Regions from separate parts of the Homo sapiens genome. Here region 1 is linked to region 2. Evidence: promoter capture Hi-C in human tissues and cell types (Jung and others, 2019). All regions are on one chromosome and are shown on one strand. The core of a region is centred on a gene start or on the middle of the fragment in contact, and the rest is flanking DNA. Distances in the headings are between cores, read along the strand shown. Region 1 overlaps DGKI (diacylglycerol kinase iota). Region 2 holds the start of DGKI (diacylglycerol kinase iota).

The links. The method cuts DNA at HindIII sites, captures the fragments that hold promoters and counts their contacts. A contact is called where the count stands out against the background at its distance.
Region 1: a contact is called between a fragment that was not itself captured here and the fragment with the promoter of DGKI in region 2, in 4 of the 25 tissues and cell types used here (IMR-90 fibroblasts, aorta, neural progenitor cells and 1 more).

The regions. Positions count from the first base shown.
Region 1 is chr7:137,732,350-137,738,826 of GRCh38, reverse strand. All of the region lies in intron 1 of DGKI (diacylglycerol kinase iota), which reads left to right. Among named protein-coding and RNA genes, the nearest start is that of DGKI, 110 kb to the left of the region's middle. The HindIII fragment of the contact is 4,900 bases long and covers 1-4,269 here.
Region 2 is chr7:137,845,306-137,851,632 of GRCh38, reverse strand. It overlaps DGKI (diacylglycerol kinase iota), which reads left to right and starts at 4,659. Exons shown (of 33, transcript NM_001321708.2): 1 at 4,659-5,171. The coding sequence starts at 4,771. RefSeq lists silencers at 3,856-4,150, 4,635-4,684 and an enhancer at 5,319-5,820. The HindIII fragment of the contact is 10,065 bases long and covers 1-6,327 here.

The DNA of each region.
Region 1 (6,477 bases), core at 570-3,069, 110 kb after region 2:
GATACTTTCAAAATTGTATCAAAGAAAATAGACAATGGAAGTCTGGCAGACTTTACAATGAGTATCTAGTAAATCGGATATGAAAAGGAAAGGGGGGGGGGGAACCTCATCTTCTCTGTGAATTTCTAAAAAAGTGTTCACATAAGACAGGGCTAGATAGTTTGAAGGATATTTTCCAAGCCCAAAACTGTACAAGAGGAAGTTTTCTCTGGGAGCTGGAATTTGAATGGACAAAGTCAGGTTGGTCTCAGTGGTTAATGCTTAAAGTTTATAAACACATCTTTTTGTTTTTAGCACATCCTACAAATGCAGTTTATTAATATGGCATTTTATATTGAAAGGTAAATATCACCATACCATTGTGAATAATTCTTTGGTAGTGAAAATAGCCCTATCTTACAGTGACTAGATCCTTCTTATAAATGCTCTTCAGGTAGCCCAAAGTTCTCCTTTGTATAACCCATTATAATTAGATTATACATATAATTGTGTAGAGGTATGTATTTAATATGTGTCTCTCCTAGTAGCTTGGAGTCAGTATAGCACAGCAGCTAAGGGTCCAGCCCTCGAGATCTGCTTTCAAATTCTACTTTTGTCACTTAGTATCTACATTACACCGATTAACTTAATCAGTGTCATGTGGTCCTGCTAACTGCATTAATTTGTCTGTATTTCATTCCGCATCTACAAAATGGTAATAAACATAGGACATATTTTATAGGGCTATATATTGAATGTATTAAATGAGAAAATCCTTGAGTATTGCTTAGCACTGTGCCTAGAACATGAAAACTCTTAATAAAGCTTGGCTATTAGTCTTGCTAAACGGTAAAGACTGTTTCTGTCTTATCCCTTGTGTTATCCCCAGTTCTTTGCACAGAACTTGTGGCACGCAGATTAATCATAGAAATTATTGAATAAATTAATGGTCCCATTTTTTTCCTAGCTCCACTGTGGTGAAGTCTCAGATTCCCAAGGATGTGGTTGTGTGCAGATAGGTTCCATGTGGCCAGGGCTCTTGTTCAGTTTAGTGTATTTATTCTGCCACACTTTGCTTAATTCCAGATTGATTTGCTTTTATATGAAGATAGTAATATATGGGAGGCATTGATTCTTAGCTTCTTAAAAACTGACAGCTAATGTTTAGAGGCATTTCAAAATACAGTATCTAAATAATATGTAGGGAAACAGGAGATGTAATTTGGGTTGATAGGAAATGCCTTGGGCTCAAGTAAGAGGTTCTGGGTTCCATTCCGAAGTCTATCAGAGATGAGCTTTCATGTCACCTGCTTAAACTTAACTTTTTTTTTTTTTAATAAAACGAAGGGACTAAAGTCCATTATCATCAAGGTTTTTGCTTGTGTTTGTATTTTATGACAGTAAGATGTTAGTTACTTTTATTAATTCCTTAAATGCATGGAACAGATTTGCCTTTATATTATGAATAGAATGCAGATTCAATTTCTGCAAATAATGTTTCTTTGTATTCCAGGGAAACTTGCTGTTGAAAGTTCTCCTTCCATGAGTATTTCTTGTAAATCAAGAATCTTTTCTAATACAAATAGTTATCTCATGTTTCTGCTTTGAAAATTTGTATGTATTTTTTTTTTTTTTTTTTTTTTGGTGAAATGAGGCATATTTGAATGCTTTGAAGTAAAACTAATACCATTTAGTGAGTATGCACAGACCCAGCATAGGGAACTAAGTATTTCAATGTTTATGATTTTAAAACACTGTCATATTTCGTGCTGTCCAATCACGTTTAGCTTTAATAGTTTTCCGTCCAATTTTTCGGAACCCACCAGACTTGATTTTTAAGAGTTAGTTCAAAGATTGCCCAAACTTTGATTCAATCTGGCTTATAAGAGATAACAAAGATTATTATTTAAAGCCACAGTCATTAGTGATATGAGGGTAGATATGAAAAAGAAAAACTGAATAGACTGCTTATCTCTTACTGTGATCTGTATGACCTCTGATTAATTTAATCATGGTTCTGTATCTAATGTTGAGGGCCTGCAACAAGGTCTTGATTGACAAAATCTATTTTCTCTTCATACTCATTCAGGCTTCTTGGAAGCTAGGGGTTTCTGATTAAATTATGCTATTTTTGTAACCCACAGAAGATCCCATATGGTCAATTTCAAGTTCCCGTTACTTTCAGTATTTTTCCTAGATGTTATTTCACTTAGGACAAACAGGATGCAATTTGTGGGGTGGTTGTTTGACCTTCTCGTATTAAAAGGTTGTAAGTGTTGTCTCTTTCAGCTGCCCATTTTAGAAGTTAAATTTATTGATTGCTGAGCACTTTAGTGCATTCTCTCATTTATTCTTCACAGCAACGTGAAGAGGTAAGGTCTGCTATTAATCCCATTTTGCCTTTGCAAAATAAGCCATAGAGGAGCTAAATAATTTGCCCACTGTCACACGGTAAGAGGTTGAGCCATGTCTGAAATTCAGGTTTATTTGGCTCCAGAACCCCTACATTAGCCTTACAATAAGATGCCTCGTGCAACCTAGCTTGATGGAGATTGCATGCTAAATATATTTTAATACTGGAAATGGTTTACTGATGTTTCCAGCATTCATAATGATCAGGTTGCAAAATCTGTTTGGACATTTATTAAGAGATTGGAACCAAATTAATGACATCTTCTCTGAAATTTCTCTTGGCTTATCTTAGGAGAAATTAGAATGAACTGAAGCAGGGAAGGATAGGAAAGAGCTATGTGAAAAATTAAACACTGTGTTTACCAATGTTGAGTGGCTTTCTACACAACATGTGTGATCTGTGTGTGGGGCCCTGTGTCCAGTGCTCAGGTTATGGTCCTACTGTCATTTTCAGCCACTGTTCATTGATGTACACTCACTGTTCAGGGTAGTAGAGTCCACAAAAGCATGCAATGTCACTGACATAGCGGACGGTAGCTAGCACAGGCGTTTAGTGTGGCCATGAGCCTCAGCTCTTGCTCCTATAATTTCATTTCTCAGGAATTGTTGTTCTTCCCTGTTGCTGGGTCTTGGTAGGGTCTGCTCTGGTCTATCCTAATCGGTGTGCTTAACTTTACATTTGGAGTACTAAGAGTTGAGGTTTTGCTTCCTTTCTTCCCAGAATTGCTTTGGAATCCTTATGCAGTTTGCTCTGCTTTCTTTGTAGTGACCAAGTTTATATACTGGCACTTCTGAATCCCAAGAAAATGACTTGCTATTCAATTGACATTTCAAAATCTAAGATGGTACCCTTGCAACCAAGAAAATATAATTTATTTTATAAAAGAAAAAACCCGTCTACCTCATCATATGCATCAGATATACAACTAAACTGTGGTAAATGCTTGTACACCAGTATCTTCAGGGTCCTGGGGAGCACAAAAAGGGCTACTTGGCCAAATATGACAGATGATTCCTGATTTGACTCTTGGGGGATAAGTAAAATCTAACCAGATAGAGAAAGGTGGAAAGAGTATTCAAGCAAAAGCACAGGATGAACAAAAGAAGGAAGCAATGAATTGATGATTAGTAAAGCAAAAGCAAAATAGATTAGCGTTGCTAAAACAAAAGTATGAGGCAGAGGGTAGCAAAAGATAAGTTTGAACATATAGGTAGAAGCCCTAAAATGCAATGCCAAGGAGACTGGAATTTATTTTAGGTTACAGGGCACCCCTAAAGGGTGTTAAATGGGACAGACGTGTTTTTCACACAGATGAGTCTAATTTCAGCATAAAAGATGGATTTCAGGGCCAGTAGCTAGAGTGGAAACAGGGAAATCAGTGAAGAGATGTTAACATGGTACCAATGTGAAATGAGAAAGGAGCCACCCAGGGTAATGGTAATAGGGATGCAGAAGATTTTTCAATTATATAGAAGGGCAAATTGACAAGCCATCATGATCAGCGGTGATGTGTAAAGGAGAGGGAGTAGTTGACAAATATTTATTGATCACGCACTCTGTGCCAGGCACTTTAAAGGTCATGAGTCACAGAAGTCTGGATTTCTAAAAATCTACAGAATGACTGCAAGGTCTCTCATTGTGAATTCATTCTCTGTTGCTGCATTGGAAATTGCCCTAAAGCTTAGTGGCTAGAAATAATATTTATTATCTCACAGATTTGTGGGTCAGGAATATAGGAGTAGCTGAGCTCAGGGTCTCTGGCTCAAGGTTTCTCTTGAGGTAGCAGTCAATTTGTTGGCTGGGCTGCCATCATCTCAAAACTTACCTGGGTTTGAAGAATCTGCTTCGAAGGTGGATATAGGTCCCTAGTCACAGGGGCCTCTCTGCAGAGCCACTTAACAAGAAGGCAGCTGGTTCTCCCCAGTGGAAGCACTCTAAAAGATATGACGAAGAGCACACACGTCAGAAACTGAAGTCTTTTAAAATCTTCATCTTGGAAATGACGTCACCAGCCACTCCTAGATTCCTGACCCGCAAATCTGTGAGATAATAAATGTTATTTTTAGTCACTAAGCTTTGGGGCAATTTCTAATGCAGCAATTGAGAAAGAATTCACAAGGAGAGATCTTGCAGTCATTCTGTAGATTTTTAGATTTTTATCATCTCTTCCCTGATCTCCCTGCTCCCACTCTAGCTACTGGCCCCCAAATCCATCTTTTATGCTAAAATTAGACTCCCCAATACTTCTGTTGTATTCTGTTTATTAGAAGGGAGTCCCAAAGTCCAGCTCACAGTTAGAGGAGGGAATTACACAATGGCATAAATGCCAGGAGACAGGGATCTGCAGGGGCCCTTTGAGAGACTGCCTACCACACCTGTATGACTGAGTAGATGGCAGTGCATTAATGAAGATTAGGAATGCAGTTGAAAGAGATTTTAGGGGGTTAATGAAGAGACTTGTTTCAGATAGAAACTGTTGCCTATTCAAATGGATCTGTGCAGCAGCATTAGTAATGGAGAAGTAGATTGGAGGGTGGTCATCGTTTTATAGGTAGCATGTGAAACCATACAAGTGACCACTACCTTACCTCCTTACAAATCATTGCTCAGAGGCCACCCTTTCGATGAGGTCTGTCTTCACCAATCTCTTAAAATTTTAACTCTTTTTTCACTCTAATATCCCATCTCCACCTTTTGAGTTATGCATAGCACTTACCATCTTCTGTCACGCCCATGATTTACTTATTGTTCATTGTCTGTTTCTTCCACCAGAATGTGAGCTCGATTAAAGCAGAGTTCTTTGTTTTATACACTGATGTACACTTAGTGCTTAGTAGAGTACCTGATGTATAGCTGATACGCAATAGTTATGCAAAGAAGGATAAAACTTTGTAAAAGTAGTACATCTAAGCCAAAGGTGGAAATAATCCAAGTATTCATTGATGGATGGATAGATAAACCAGATGTGGTACATACATACAATGGAATACTATTTGGCCTTAAAAAGTAAGAGGATTCTGCCACATGTTACAACATGAGTGAGCCTTGAGGACATTATGCTAAGTGAAATGAGCCACTCACAAAAGGACAAATACAGTATGATTTCACTTAAATAAGGTACTTAACAGTCATCAAATACATAGAGACAGAAAGTAGAATGGTGGTTACCAGGTGCTGAATGGAGGAAGGAATGAGGAGTTATTGTTTAGTGACTGCAGAGTTTCATTTGGGGAAGATGAAAAGTTCTGGAGATGGTTGGTGGTAGATGGTTCCACAACAATGTGAATGTAGTTAATGCCACAGAACAGAGCAATTAAAATGGTTTAAATGATACATTTTATGTTATATGTATTTTACCAAAAAAAAAAAATTTCAAAGGTTGTGGACGTAGTAATTAAGATAAGGACTGAAGAATGCCTATTGGATTTGCTAAAACAGAGACCTCAGTGAGAGCTGGTTCAGTGGGACACTGGGAGCTGAGATGATACTGATGAGTGATTGAGAAGTGAGGGGGATACGAGCTAGAGGAGGCTTCTTTATAAAGAATGGGGGGGATCTCAGAATGTTTCAGGCTGGGAGAAGTGGTAGTGGGGTGCATGTGTGTGTATGTATGTGTGTTGTGGAGACTATGTGGGGCGGGGAGGCCACTTGGAGATACAGCTATTAAATAAGTGAACAACAATACAAAAGGCGGGCTGGGGGAAGGGAGGAAGGAAACCGAAGGAACCTTTCCTGTCTACTTGTATGGAGGAGTAATGTCTGAAATTTTCCAAATAGCCAAAGTTGTGGCACATGAGGAGGTTTGGAGCAAACATTATAATAGCTTGGGTTAATTATCACAGTCTGCACCATTCAGACAGTGTCTATCAGAACCCAGGAACAGCCTATAAGACTAAGCTGTGCCAAACTGTGGAAAGGGGTCGATGGTTTAGGGCAGTTAGGGCTGCAGGTTCTAGGGCAGTTATCATCATGAAAGGCTGTGATAAGACATTAACTGTTGAACATTCTTACAGCATATTGTATTGTAATAGACTCTGAATTTGAATATTTTATTATAGCAAGTATGTTGTATGCAAAGTACTCAG
Region 2 (6,327 bases), core at 3,410-5,909:
AGATTACACTACATTCTTTCAGTGACATCATTATGTTTGCAAAGCTGGGTTTTGGTGGTTGCAATTTCATGTGGTATTAAGGAGCAATACCACATGAAAATTAGTGTGGAACAGGAAATGAAGGTGGTGGTGTCTAATATGATCCTAAGATTTGAGAGGTTGTGTCATGCCCATTACTATCCCATTGGTAAGTGATTGTGGCTGCTTACAAATGAAGTACAAACATTTTTTCTTTCAATTTATGTTTTTTTCAAATAGCTACTAATGTTGTCAAGAAGTAAATGTTTATTGAATTGTTAGCATCTGAATACTTAATAAACATAAGTGTTAGGTTCATCTTCATAAATCTCAGCCTAGAAGTGCCAGGAAAAATAATTACTGAGACATTCAGTAAAGGGTGGTGTGAACTGAGAAAGTCTGGGAACCTCTGAGGTAGAGCTTTACGGGCAGGCAGGAATAAGCTCAGCATGTGATGTGGTTTGGCTCTGTGTCCCCACCCAAATCTCATCTCGAACTGGAATCCCCATATGTCGAGGGAGGGACCTGGTGGGAGGTGATTGGATCATGGAGGTGGTTCCCCATGCTGTTTTCAAGATAGTGAGTGAGTTCTCACGAGATCTGATGGTTTTATGAGGGGCTCTTCCCCCTTCACTCTCTGCTCTGCCTCTCCTACGGCCATGTGAAGAAGGTCTTTTCTTTCCCTTCATCTTCTGCCATGATTGTAAATTTCCTAAGGGTTCCCCAGCCATGCAGAACTGTGAGTCAGTTAAGCCTCTTTCCTTTGTAAATTACCCAGTCTCGGGGAGTTCTTTATAGCAGTGTGAAAATGGACTAATACAGCATGTATGAGAAATGGGATGTTAGGAGAGCTGAGTCAGAAGGTGAGGGACTGCAGGGATGGAGGAGGCACAGGAGAGACCAAGTGGGGCCTTGTAGGCTTTGACAAGAGAGCTCAGTTATCATTTCTGTACAACATGATACATCCTGGAAACTTAATCCTGGAAACTTCTTTTTCTTTTTTTCCTCAGTGACAACATTTTCAAAAGCTCTATTATCTTTTCCTGGTTTTATACATAACTGAGGTCTCCAATGTGTGCATATGCATGTTTAAATGTGTCACTTTTTAAAAAAACATTCTGTGTTATTTCTGGAAAATTCCTGAAATTCCTGAAAACTACATACATTTAAAAATGTTAAATATAATGTTCTCATTATTATCTGGTCTTGCAGTCTTATCTAGACTTAAATTTTTTTTCTTCTTTCTTTCAAACTTCACATTGAAGCCCTTTTATCAAGCTCGGCATTTAGGAGACTCAAGGTTGGTATTTAAGACTAGGATGACACCTGTTTTAGATTGAACAGTAATTAATAATAGAAAGGTGAGTTAGGAAGCTCACCAAATGGGGCATGGCTTTGGGCCCAGTCATGGAAATATTGTCCATCTGAGGTCTGAGATTATACTTCCAGGTCCAGACACTGGATGTTTCAATATACCCAGAGATGCTCATTTTCTTGGTTATGTACTTATGTTACTCAAAATCACATGCAATGCAGTTTCAAAGCAGAATGTCAATTTATTTTTGTGATTAGAATGCTTTTGACCCATTTTCAAGGATTCCACTTTTTAGTGTCAAGGAAACTAAGAAGCAGGATGAATAATTACAAGGTTACTTGGTGATCGTTGAAAAATAGAAAGGAAAATAAATTGTCTAAGAGAATGACTAATATTTTAAGTAACTTCTCAGGAGATCACCCCACAACAGAATTCATTTGTCTTTTGCTGGAATTATTTGTGCTTCCCAAATGTCGCTCTGTCTTAAGTTAGAGTTAATGTTCAATGACTGTTTTTTTAAAAACCCAATATTCCTCTGATTAGCAACCCATTAATACACTATTTAAACATATAAATACACACTTGAGAGGTCCAGCTGGCTTTTCTGATAGGCTGGGAGACATTCTGTTGGCATGTACTTATTGAATCAGGCAAAACCTCAAGACTCTAGCTAGAGCCATTCAACTCCGCTTCACTGTGACCATTTTCTTATGTATCCTTCCAGAAATATTATATCTCTATAGATCTTCTTTTCTCCATAAATGATAGCATACTACTAAATACTCTGAGCATTGTTTTTCTTTTTTTGTTAACATTATATATTTGAGATTGTTTTATATTAATGAATGTTAACTTGCCTTATGTATCTTGACAGTTCCAGAGAATTCCATTGTTTGGATGAATAACAATTTAGGTTGTTTTCAATCTTAAATCCTTGTGTATACCTACAAGTATATCAGAGGACGAATTTTTAGAAGTGAAATTGCTTAGTTAATTAGGTCATGCATTTCAAACATGGATAGATATTGTAAAATTTACCATCAGAGAGATTTTACTAGTTAAAGTATATCAAAAATTTGAGGAAGCATTTGTTTTCATACCCCCTCATCAATACCATCTATTATCAAACTGTTTGTTCTGAAAAATGACGTCTTTCATTATGTTCACAACGATGTATATTTCTTTTCTCAGTCAATAAACACTTCATGATGGTCTATGATATACACACTTATGCAATTATGTTACCTGTTTATTATTACTGAAGATATAGTGATAAACAACATATAGCGTTTATATACATGTGGGATAAATAGACACATGACAGTTGCAGTGGTCCAAGTTTAGTACAATGGTGCAATGGGAGCTATGGGAGGTACGTCCATCACAGTCTAGAAAGGGATCATCAACGGAGGCTTCTAGTGGGGAGAAACATGGGGAGAGACATGTAAACTAAAATCCGATGGAGGTGTAGAGTAGTTGGCTTGGCAAATCTTAGGAAAAGGAGAAGCAAAGAAGAGGAGACAGCAGACTCACACGTGCAAAAATGGGAATGGAGAGAGCAGAGAGCGTGTGGGGTTTGCACAAAGAACAGTTCAGAACCTCACTGTCATGACAGTATGAAGGGAAAGCGGGCAGTACTCCACCACCCACCAATGTAGCCCTCAAAATCAGCTGAGTTGTTTGAACTTTACCCTAACGGCAATATGACATAATCAAAAGATTTTTAAGTGGAGGCGTGAAAAATCAGAAGTATTTTGGGGCTCACACTTGAGATTGGATTGGGGAAGATACGGCTAAAAGTAAGTGGGAGTAATGAGGGGGCTGTCCCAGTAATTGGGTTCAGATGACATTTGCTTGATTTTAGGGATGTACGAGATATTCGTGGATCTTGTGTTGAAGCACCTAATACACGATGTCCCTTCTGAAGACGGGTGCATTAAACTGGGGTGAAGCACAAAGGCCACTGAGCAGCCTGGCTTGACTCCTGGCTTTGCCAGTTTGCATTTGCACGTGTCCAAGCCCTTGAGAGGTGCTGTGAAAACATAGAGGTGGATGAGGGAAGTGCTTATACAGCACATACCGTATAAAAAGAGGGCTTCATACTTGCTAGTTGTTTTAATTTTTATTATTACTTTTCCTCGCTGCACATGGAAATGTCTTTACCTTTGTCTTATTATAAGGTACATACGAGGAGAGTTACAGAACATGGGTGTTAGAAGAGATTTGACATATCTGTTCATTTTCCTAATTTTAGTGATGAGAAAATAAAGGGAAAGAAAGCAATTTAGATTTTTGCCAGTATTACAATTCTTTGTTCACGGGCACACCACGCCAGCCTGAAACTGTTCATTGGTCTGGTTCTCTTACCACCTCGTATATGTAGGTTTATAGTTTGGTTACGAACACCACCTTGTCTTAACCATAGATAGTTCCTGTGTTTGCCGACAGCAGCGATTTCTTGTGTGGAAACCCCTAATTTGGGAAACAATCTGTTTTAAACACTTTGTAGCACATCACTCAAACCGCACAGTTTTCGATAATCTTAGAAACAAAAACTGGGGTTGAGGCGGACAGTTAAATTCTGCAGACACCACAAGCTTGGATTCGTTTCAGCAGTCGGTCCTAAGTGGTTTGAAGCCCCTTCCGGGATGCCTCTTCTTATACGAACAACGCAGCGGCGCCAGGCGCCAGGGTCCTCACTTCTGCCTCCTGGATTTCCTCCGCCTTTCTGCTTCACCGAGGGCCCTGTGATCCGATTCCATCGAATTAACCGCTGTTTACCGAGGGTCTGCTGCGCCTAAGGAAGGCACCGGGCGACGAGCAAGGCGGGGACGCAGTTTGGGGACGCAGGGGTCCGGGCCCCAGTCCAGAGACAGGAGGTCGGCGCTTCGACTTGGCACCCGCCGACGAATTCACTCCAAGGTTCCCACTGGCGGAGCTCCTGCTACCTCCCCCCTCCCCTAAATGCAGCTCCCGCTACCTTCCCGCGCCCAGGGGCTGCTGCCTGAGCCCAGCTCTGCTCACTGGAGGGCGGCGGTGGAGAGGGTGCTGGCCCAGCGTCGGCAGCTGGGCTCAGGACCAAGGTGGGCGCCCGCCGGTCCTGGTCCCCCCAGCCTCACGGTGCAGGACCCAGGGCGCGGCCACTCGAGTTCCCCGGACGCTCTCCTTCCTGATGCTCGCTGTCCCTGCCCTGGCGTCCCCAGCCCGGGGTCGCAGCCTGTCCTCCTCTCTCTCCCCCTCCGCCGCAGCCCGTCGCCTCCGGGCAGAGTTCATGTTCAGCTTGGGCTTTCGCTCGGGATTTAGGAAGAGGCCGGCGGGGCTGGAGGGTGCGGGCCGGCGCGGGAGGGCGCGGGAGGCGGGGAGCGGCGGCCTCTGATTGGCCGGGGCGGGGGAGTGAGCGGAGTTTCCCACAATGCCCCGGTGCGGTGCAGCCGCGGATGGATGCTGCGGGAAGGGGCTGCCATTTGCTGCCCCTGCCAGCGGCGCGCGGACCTGCCCGCGCTCCTGCAGCCGCCGCCGCCGCCGCCGCCAGCCCGCCCGGCCCCTGCAGCGGCGCCGCCTGCGCTCCCTCCGCGGCCGCCGGAGCGGGCGCCATGAACCCCAGCTCCTCGGCGGGAGAGGAGAAAGGGGCGACGGGCGGCAGCAGCAGCAGCGGAAGCGGCGCCGGGAGCTGCTGCCTGGGCGCCGAGGGCGGCGCGGACCCGCGGGGCGCAGGGTCAGCCGCGGCGGCGGGGGCCGCTGCCCTGGACGAGCCCGCGGCCGCCGGCCAGAAGGAGAAGGACGAAGCGCTGGAGGAGAAGCTGAGGAACTTAACTTTCCGGAAGCAGGTCTCGTACAGGTAGGTGCGGGGAGCCGGCAGCCGAGACAGGTGCGCCGCGGCGGGAGACCCACTCTTCTACCCAGCAAGGGGCGCTTCCGCGGAGTTGGGCACCTCTCTGTTTCCACGCCTCTCCTTCCCCCTTTCCCCCTCTCCTCCCGGGGATGTCTGTCTTCTCCCCATCCTATCATTCCAGGCTGGAGGGCAGCAACGCCTGCTTTCCCCTGTGGCAGGAGAGAAGCACTGGGTCCCTAAGGTCAGAGCAACAGAAATTTTGTCTGTGTGTGTGTGTGTGTGTGTGTGTGTGTGTGTGTGTGTGTGAGAGAGAGAGAGAGAGAGAGAGAGAGAAAGAGAGAGAGAGAAAGGGTTGCAGACTCAGTGATGCTTAGTTTTCTTAAGAGAAGTCGTCAAAGTTGCCCCTAAGCAGGTGTCATCTTCAACCACCCTTCCCCCACCTTCCAGATTTCGCTGGATGAACCTTTGGCACTAACTTGACAGCTGAGATCACTCCGACAGGCAGAAAAGAATAGCACTACACTGAAGAGAAATCCTTATGGAAGTTGGACCTGCCTCGAAATCCCCCATGAAGGAAGAGTGGGTTTATGTCTGTAGATGCGCCACTGGTTATGGGGGCTCCATGCCTGCGTGCTCCTTGCCTCTCTCCTGGCTGGAGGAGGGTGTGGGGAGCCCGCTGGCAAGCTAGGGGTGAAGGTGAGAGTGGGGACCATATTTGCACCTAAGGATGAGTGTATGTGTAAGACAAGGACAGTGTGGGATCAATGGCCTTTAAATTAGGATAAAAGATAACCCCACATTGTATTAGAATCCAACAACGAGGAATTAGGATTTATTAAGGTCTCTCTCACCCCTCCCTTCCGCAGGCAAGAATAAAGACATTGACAGGTTTGGAGAGTTGTTGACACTAACCCTACTGCTTATCGATGTTAAAGGTCGAGGTGATATGCAAGCATAGGTTTACAAAGATGTACACTTGCTGGAGCTCAGAGGGTTTCTGGAAAAGGGGTCAGTGAAAACATTCTTGTAACCCTACTCTTTCTGAGTTAGTGTTCCCTTCCCAAAAACCATATAAAGTATTAAGCCTGTCACACCATGTGCTGTTATGTAAGCAAACGCAGATGACAGAGGTGTGTGGGTTTGGGAGGGTGTGTTTTATTTA